Linked DNA regions of Homo sapiens: all the other regions are linked to region 3. Evidence: promoter capture Hi-C in 16 types of primary human blood cells and fetal thymus (Javierre and others, 2016). All regions are on one chromosome and are shown on one strand. The core of a region is centred on a gene start or on the middle of the fragment in contact, and the rest is flanking DNA. Distances in the headings are between cores, read along the strand shown.

Region 1 (2,700 bases), core at 155-2,654, 170 kb before region 3:
CCCATGTCAATGTGTCCCTGGAAGGTGGAGAGGGCCACTTTGCCCTAAGCACCCAAGACAGCGTCATCTATCTGGTGTGTGTGGCTCGGCGGCTGGATCGAGAGGAGAGGGATGCCTATAACTTGAGGGTTACAGCCACAGACTCAGGCTCACCTCCACTGCGGGCTGAGGCTGCCTTTGTGCTGCACGTCACTGATGTCAACGACAATGCACCTGCCTTTGACCGCCAGCTCTACCGACCTGAGCCCCTGCCTGAGGTTGCGCTGCCTGGCAGCTTTGTAGTGCGGGTGACTGCTCGGGATCCTGACCAAGGCACCAATGGTCAGGTCACTTATAGCCTAGCCCCTGGCGCCCACACCCACTGGTTCTCCATTGACCCCACCTCAGGCATTATCACTACGGCTGCCTCACTGGACTATGAGTTGGAACCTCAGCCACAGCTGATTGTGGTGGCCACAGATGGTGGCCTGCCCCCTCTAGCCTCCTCTGCCACAGTTAGCGTGGCCCTGCAAGATGTGAATGATAATGAGCCCCAATTCCAGAGGACTTTCTACAATGCCTCACTGCCTGAGGGCACCCAGCCTGGAACTTGCTTCCTGCAGGTGGGTAGGCCTGGCACATAGCAAGATAGTGTTGGGGGAATCTGAGAGCCACAGGGGACCTCAGAGCAGGAACCAAGCCTTACAAGGTCATCTGTTGATGGTGACTTATGCTAGAGGGTTCTGCCCTATGTTGTAAGCTCCAAAATCTGTGCAGAGGATGAGGGTTAATGAGAAGATGAGAAAGCAGGGTGCAAGAGCTGAGGCAGATGGTCTTGGCAGGTGAGGAAATTAAGATTGGATCTAGTGGAGAAATGATTTGTGGTGTCAGGAAATGAAAGCCTCAAAGCTGTTCTGCAGGGCAGAGATGGAGATTCTACATACGTATGTGGCTTCTGTTCCCCAAAGAAGACACCAGAATTTATGGGGCCCTCCATTGCTTGTCAAGTGCTGGGTTGTGCTGGAAGAAATCCTCATCCCTGCCCTCAGAGCTGAGCCTTAATAGGCCATTTGGTCTCAGACATGAGAATGAGAGATAGCAAGAATTATCTCAATATCCAGAGCAGGAAGGCCTCTCAGGGGAAGAGGCAGGAACCCTGGACAGGCTGAGAAAGACACATACTGGCTGCAAGTCAGTCCTGGAGAAATGGAGGGAACATGAAACTGGAAAGGCACTCTGAGGCCAGGTTGCAGAAGTCCTTGAACACAAAGCAGTAGTTAGGACTACTTGGGAAGCAAAGGAGCTCACTGAACTTCTTTTTTTTTTTTTTGAGGCGGAGTCTCGCTCTGTTGCCCAGGCTGGAGTGCGGTGGCATGATCTGGGCTCACTGCAAGTCTGCCTCCTGGGTTCACGCCATTCTCCTGCCTCAGCCTCCCAAGTAGCTGGGACTACAGGCACCTCCACCACACCCAGCTAATTTTTTGTATTTTTAATAGAGACGGGGTTTCACTGTGTTAGCCAGGATGGTCTTGATCTGCCCTCGAGGAGATCACTGAATTTCTTTGAGCTGGGAAGTGAATGATCAGGTTGGGTTTTATTAAGTTAGCTATCTGGCTTTAAGGGTGATTGGATCAGCAGGTGTGTGACAGATCGTTCCTTGATTCATATGTTCAAGATTTTATTTAACTACTGTAAGCCTAGCACTGTGCTAGGCCCAGAGAACAAAGAAAAGAGACAATCCTGTTCCCAGGGTGGTCACAGTCTAGATAGGGAGACACATCAGCAACTAGTGCTGCAGCAGGTGGCGTATGAGTGCTGTGGAAGCCCAGAGGAGGGGCCTTGAAGAACTAATGAAACTTTGCCAAATGGATAATATGAGGTGTGCAGATGGAGACTCCAGGCCTAAGGAAAGAGCTGCTGAACAAATACCAGGACGTGTTCAGGAGACTGTATTGTTCAGGCTGGCATCAGCTGTACTAATGAGAAAGAGTCGGGGGAGATGAGAAAAGACAGTAGACAGGAGCCAGGTCACAAATTCAACTTTATCTTGAAAATCATAGGGAGCAAGTGAAGGACTCTAAGCAAATCTGATATGTCTTTAAGAAAGATTGCTTTGGCTGCACTGTGGAGAATGGCAGCAGGAGAGAGGACAGTGGGCAGGGAGTCCTCTTAGGAGGCTGGTGCTTAGTGTCCTTATGTCTCCAAACTCCACCAGACTCTTGAACATCTCCTCAGGGCATAGACTTCCAGGCTAGCTCTGGGCCTGGCTGACCTCTTGTCCTCTGGCCAGACTCTGCATATTTGCTCGCCTGCTGCTGTGCAGCTCCACCACCCACTCTTCCACGTGTTTACTCTCCTTCTTGTCCAGGACCAATGGGCTATGGCTTCCAGACTTCTCTCCTCACTAGTGCCTGAAGCAAGAGGGCAACTCTCCAGGTGGTTTCCTGGAGTTTTTACTATTAGTAACCATAGAGAATCGGGGTAAAAATGACCATTTGGGGTTTACAACTGTCACAAGAAGTCTTAATGTTTGATTTATTCAATATACATGTATTGAATGTCTACCATGTGCTAGTCACTGTATTAGAGACACGGAATACAGTCATGAATGCGTCACTCCCCTCATCTTAAGGAGTTTATAGAGGGGAGATTCATGTGCAAAGAAATAGTTTCATTCCAATAAGAACATTTCCATTTGGGGATATATATGAGGTACAGATA
Region 2 (2,700 bases), core at 91-2,590, 240 kb before region 3:
AGATACACATTTACAAATACATTTATCATTGACTTATGTGTGTGTTTATTTCAAAGAGCAAGAGAGAATTTTAAGGAAATGCACAGGGCATTCAAGAGAGCAAATGATCCTGTAAACTACCTAGAAAGTAAGAAAGATGATTTCTTCACGAGTTTTAAGATCTCCTGTCAAGGAGCAACCTCCATCAAAACATTTGTTGATGTTCTGTGGTATAAGCTCACTCCTGCAGTCTCCACTACTATATGGGAGGACATGACCTTTAAAATTGCGGGGGACATGCGAGCTACCTGCCCTGCGTTCAATGGAAACAGGACTAACCTGGAGAAACACATTCTCTTCTCTCTGGCAGAAGAAGAAAACTTTGATAATTACTGGGAATACCTTCATAATTCAAAATCGTTTTTTAGGAGTTACATCAAAAATCATATTAAAAGATATTGTTCAGACAATGGAGGTGAAAAAATGAAGACTTTTTTTGAAAAAAGCTTAATTGATATCAAGAATACCATCCTCTCTGCCATCCATGAATCCACATCAGTAGCTAAAGATAAAAGCAGCACTGCTTCTGAGTGGTTGGATTTATTCTGTGATTGCCTGGGGTGCAACTTGATCTTTCCACGAAGGGACTTGATAAGCATTGAACACCAGGAGATAAAACATACTGAATTTCTTAAAGAAGCCATGAGTGCAGCTTTGGATCTCACAATGAAGAAAATAGAACAGAATTATTCAAGTAAGCCTATAGAAGCAATGGTTTCTAAAATTGAGAAAATGCTCTCTGAACATCTCTGTGGCTGCTGGAAACAGTGTCCCAGCTGTGGAGCAATTTGTACAAACACAATTCCTACACATGAAGGAGACCATAGTGTTCCCTTCCACCGTCCTCAGGCTGTCAATGGGGAGGAATGGTATGAAACAGATGATTTTGTCATTGATTGCTGTACTAGTTTGGTTGCAAGTGATTGTTTGTTGGTTTTGAGGGATGGCAGGAATTTCCCATTTAAGAACTATCGACAAGCAGGAGGGGATTATGCCATGTGGAGCATCACCCCAGATACCTCCATCCAGCTATACTGGAAATGGTTTGTCTCTCACTTCAGATCAAATCTAGAAGAAAAATATCAGAAAAAATTTGCAGGTAAAGGTAAAATCCCCAATGCATGGGCCAAAATCACAAAGCAAGATGTGCTTGAAGACTTGAAAAAACAGTAATACTCAGTGACCACAAAAGAGCCCCAGTGTCTGAAGAAAAGAGGCAGTGTACCTGAACAATCCAAAAACAACTACTCATTACAATTAGAACCTTCATCATTTCCATGTTTAAAATGAAATGTGTAAAAATCAATCAATTAACACATTAAGAGATGAAAATTTCCAGTAAAAGGACTTCATTTCTCTCTGCCTCAATTCCTCTAGTTTAAAAACAACTTACTAAAATCTGTTAATATATGATGAAATCAAATAACATTCATTTTAGAAACCTATTTTGTATTTTAAACTATTATTCTAGATATTGCTTTTTTATTTTAAAATATTTAAGTATCAGAGAAAGTCATTTTAACAGAGAAAAATCAAAATCATTTCAGGCTGCAACAAATTTCTATAGAATAACTGTATCAGTATTTCAACCAATATACATGTCTTGACTGAAAGCTATAAACTGGCTCACTGCAACGTCCACCTCCCGGGTTCAAGTGATTCTCCTGCCTCAGCCTCCTGAGTAGCTGGAACTACAGGCACACACCATCACTCCTATTTTTTTTTGTATTCTTAGTAGAGACAGGGTTTCACTGTGTTGGCCAGGCTGGTCCTGACCTCAAGTGATCCACCCATCTCGGCCTCCCAAAGTGCTGGGATTACAGGCATGAGCCACTGAGCCCAGCCAGACTTTTCAATGTTTAAGTGGATTTTTTTCACCCTCTAAAGTTTTAAGGAAAAGTTATTAATCTTTAAATGTAAAAACATTCATGAGTCCCAAGCATAGCAATATTTAGGCATATTCTGTTCTAGGAAAGAATAAAGCAGAGACTTGACCAAGATAGGGATGTCATCAATTCAGGAAACATTATCAAGCAAATATGGAAAGTAGAAATCAAATAACTGTTTTTCTCATTAACTTTCACCCTGTTCTTCCCTGGTATGTTGGCAATTCCCTGCGCATGCTAAGAAAAAAAAAAAAACAGTCACAAAGCTTTGTTATTCAAAGCTTGGTGTTATGTACAAGTCTGAGAATTGGCTTTTGGAAAAAAATTTATGATGACCAAATAAAATGTACCATTTTAATGAAGTCTGTGGACAAGGTTCAATTAGATTGGTTATTTTAAAATGATTCATTGATTATTTTAAACTGATTACTTAAAGAAAAATATCAAAAAGTATACAGTTTTAAGGCCGGGCATGGTGGCTCATGCCTGTAATCCCAGCCCCCTGGGAGACAGGGCAGGCAGATCACCTGATGTCAGGAGTTTGGGACCAGCCTGGCCAACATGATGAAACTCCATCTCTACTAAAAATACAAAACTTAGCCAAGCATGGTGGCAGGCACCTGTAATCCCAGCTACTTGGGAGCCTGAAGCAGGAGAATGGCTTGAACCTGGGAGGCAGAGTTTGCAGTGAGCTGAGAACAAGCCACTGCACTCCAGCCTGGGTGACAGAGCGAGACTCCGTGTTGAAAAAAAAAAAAAAAAAAAAGTATACAGT
Region 3 (2,700 bases), core at 54-2,553:
CTGCACCCAGGTGTTGAGCCTAAATCTGAACCTTGTGGAGAGGTCACAAGAAAGATCCCTAACAGCACTTTGGTTTAGTCAGGGCTAGGTGTCATCACCTGTATGCCCTTTGGCCAAGGAAACCAGAATTTTTCAGGATTTTCCCCACCTCTGGAAGGCTGGAGGAAGGGGAAGACCCACTCAGCAGATTCCCATAGTGCAGGGATCCTCACAGGCATGACTTTGCCCTTTGTCATGGATACTGCAGCTCCCAGACAGTCTTCTGGGCTTTGATCAGCCTGCAATCATCTGACTAGAGCTTGATTTTTGGGGCAGGGAAGGTGGTCCTTATATGAGCTGCCACTTAATGGGCCACTGGGGATTTTTCAACATGAAAGGTACCGAGTCTCCAAATGCTGGTTGTAGGGCCTAAAAACAGGGCTCAACTCCAGGTTCTGCCACTTTCTAGCTGAGTGATGAGGGCTAACGTCTGGGGAGCAAGATCCCTATTTTTTCCCATTGTAAAATTGGGCTAATAAAAGATGCTACCTACTGACTATTAAATAATATATGTAAAGTGGCTAGTTCTGTGTCGGCACATAATAACCACTCAGTCCCTGTAAACTGTTACAATTATTTTCCACTTGGGGCTGCTTTTTGCACAAGGCGATGATTCTGAGAATTGTCCAGTGTCTTTGGTGTGAGGAAGGGAGTCGCTGGATGGTCTGAACCAGAATTTCCTCAGGAGGGGGCTCCTGAAGCGCCCAAAGCCTAATCAAATCCCCCACCTTTCTACCCCTTAACTCCTTCTCCCAGAGTTCTGGGTACTGCCCTTCTGCCGCCCAGAGATCGTGCTGAGGTACAGACGGTTTCTACGTCTTCCTGGTCAGCCGATAGACTAGCATATTCCATAGGAGCACTCCAAGGAAGCCGGAAAGGGCGCCTCCAGGAGGCAGGCGGCCCAGACAGGCTCCCAGAGTCCGAAATCCCTGCTGCCCCAGCTGCCTTTTCTTGACGGAGTCTCATCTCAATCCCTGAGACCGACTACACCGCCCTTCCCGGAGCCGGAGGCAGCTGGCGGAGATCCGGGATCCGAGATCCGGGATCCGGCTCGCCGGCCCGCCGGCTCCCTAGCAGCACCAAGGAGGCAGCGTCCGCAGGAGGTGGAGGCGTTGGCGGGGGGGCGTGCGGGTGCGGTAGGGGTGGGCAGGCGGGGTGGGCGGGGCCTCCGCGGCGGCGGGCGGGGCGTGGGTGGGTCTTCCCTACTGGAGTCACCCCCTCCCCCGGCCGGTCCGCAGCCCCGCCCCGGCCCCTCCCTCCGGCCTGTGCGGCTAGTCCGGCGGCGGCGCCGGCGCGGGGACAGGCGGAGGCGCGGGCAGGGCCGGGCGGACGGGCGCTGGCAGCAGTAGCAGCGCCGCGGGCCCTTCAGAGTGGCCGCAGTCCGAGCTTTGCCCTCGCATCCTGTTCCAACGCGGTGAGTGCGACGGGCGGGCCCCAAGGGTGCGTTTGTATTCCTGTCAGCCCGGGTCTGGGTCGGAGCGTCTGTGGGTGGGGGCACAGATGATTTTCAAAAGCTGTGCCTCTCTCTGCCCACGTGAGGCGTGTCCATGTCCGTGAGAGCAGCAGGGGGATTCTTCGGGCTGTGGCTGCTCACGTGAGGTCCCTGTTTTGAGGCGGGGAGGCGCGGGTGGATGGGTGATGGTTCCTTAGGGGAGCGCGGGGTTTGGGAGCTTGTGTGTGTTGGCGGAGGGTGCTGAACGCTGCGGCCGAGGGTGGTGGTGGTGGTGCGTGCTGAGTGGGACTCTGGAATATTGTGGCCCATCTTGTCTGAAGGGCTCTTTTCTCCCTGGTGCAGACACCTCCACCCCTTGCTCCCCCACCCCCACCCTACCCCACCCCCCGCCCCTTCCATCCTCTGGTACCCACAGGCCCACCAGTCAGGATGGAGGACACCCTTTCCTCCCCATGCACTGCTCTGTGGACAGAAAGCCTCATGTGGAGGCTGTTTTTTTGTAGGAAAGGACCCCTCTGGTTCTCCTGTAGCCTGAGCCCTGCCTGGAGGACCCCAGGCCCCTCCCTGGTTCTGACCTCCTCCCTTCTGCAATTGGCTTCAGATCCTGGGCTGCAAACCTGCAGGGACAGATGGTTGCAGGTTGGAGGGGCAGGCTGCACCCCAGGGAGGTCAGTTCGACTGAGGGCAGGCCCTGGGCTTGTTCTTGGTGTGGGGGTTCTCTGATGTGGACAACAGAAACTCAGGACTGGCCCTAGCAGGAAGATCACATCTGGGAGGTCACAGCAGGTGCAGAAAACATCACAGGTCTCCCTTGGCCAGTCTGTCTAGCTCACTGGTGCCCATTCATCCCCTAAGCAGGGGATGATTTGCTGCAGAATTGGAATCAGAGCTGCAGGCCTGACAGTAGCCCTGCCTCCTTGGGCTTGTATGCCTCCAGTGACAGAGCACTTGCTACTTTCTGCTGTGGAAAAGCTTCCTTATATTAAGCAGAGGTCTCTCTTCTTGGGACTTTATTCACTTGTCTTGTTACTGCCATTACTTTTGCATCTCTCTCTGATGAAAGGGAACTGCAGAGATTTAAACAGAGCTCTCCTGTAACCAACATATACTGAGTACTTCCTGTGTGCCAGGTACTGCCACAGCCACTTAGGAGACAATGGCATTCTTGCCGAGAGAACTTGAGCAAAGAGTCCATCGTTGGGATAGTA

Evidence for each region. The method cuts DNA at HindIII sites, captures the fragments that hold promoters and counts their contacts. A CHiCAGO score of 5 or more calls a contact.
Region 1: a contact is called between a fragment that was not itself captured here and the fragment with the promoter of TRIM3 in region 3, in 1 of 17 cell types (neutrophils). The highest score is 5.3, in neutrophils.
Region 2: a contact is called between a fragment that was not itself captured here and the fragment with the promoter of TRIM3 in region 3, in 2 of 17 cell types (activated CD4 T cells and total B cells). The highest score is 6.6, in activated CD4 T cells.

What each region holds. Positions count from the first base shown.
Region 1 is chr11:6,637,719-6,640,418 of GRCh38, reverse strand. DCHS1 (dachsous cadherin-related 1) reads left to right here. Exons shown (of 21, transcript NM_003737.4): 2 at 1-602. Among named protein-coding and RNA genes, the nearest start is that of DCHS1, 17 kb to the left of the region's middle. The HindIII fragment of the contact is 8,749 bases long and covers 1-2,700 here.
Region 2 is chr11:6,713,123-6,715,822 of GRCh38, reverse strand. It overlaps the pseudogene GVINP1. Among named protein-coding and RNA genes, the nearest start is that of MRPL17, 31 kb to the right of the region's middle. The HindIII fragment of the contact is 1,706 bases long and covers 488-2,193 here.
Region 3 is chr11:6,472,544-6,475,243 of GRCh38, reverse strand. TRIM3 (tripartite motif containing 3) reads left to right here and starts at 1,303. Exons shown (of 12, transcript NM_033278.4): 1 at 1,303-1,453. RefSeq lists a silencer at 1,177-1,406 and enhancers at 764-1,702, 1,703-2,642. The HindIII fragment of the contact is 3,557 bases long and covers 1-2,466 here.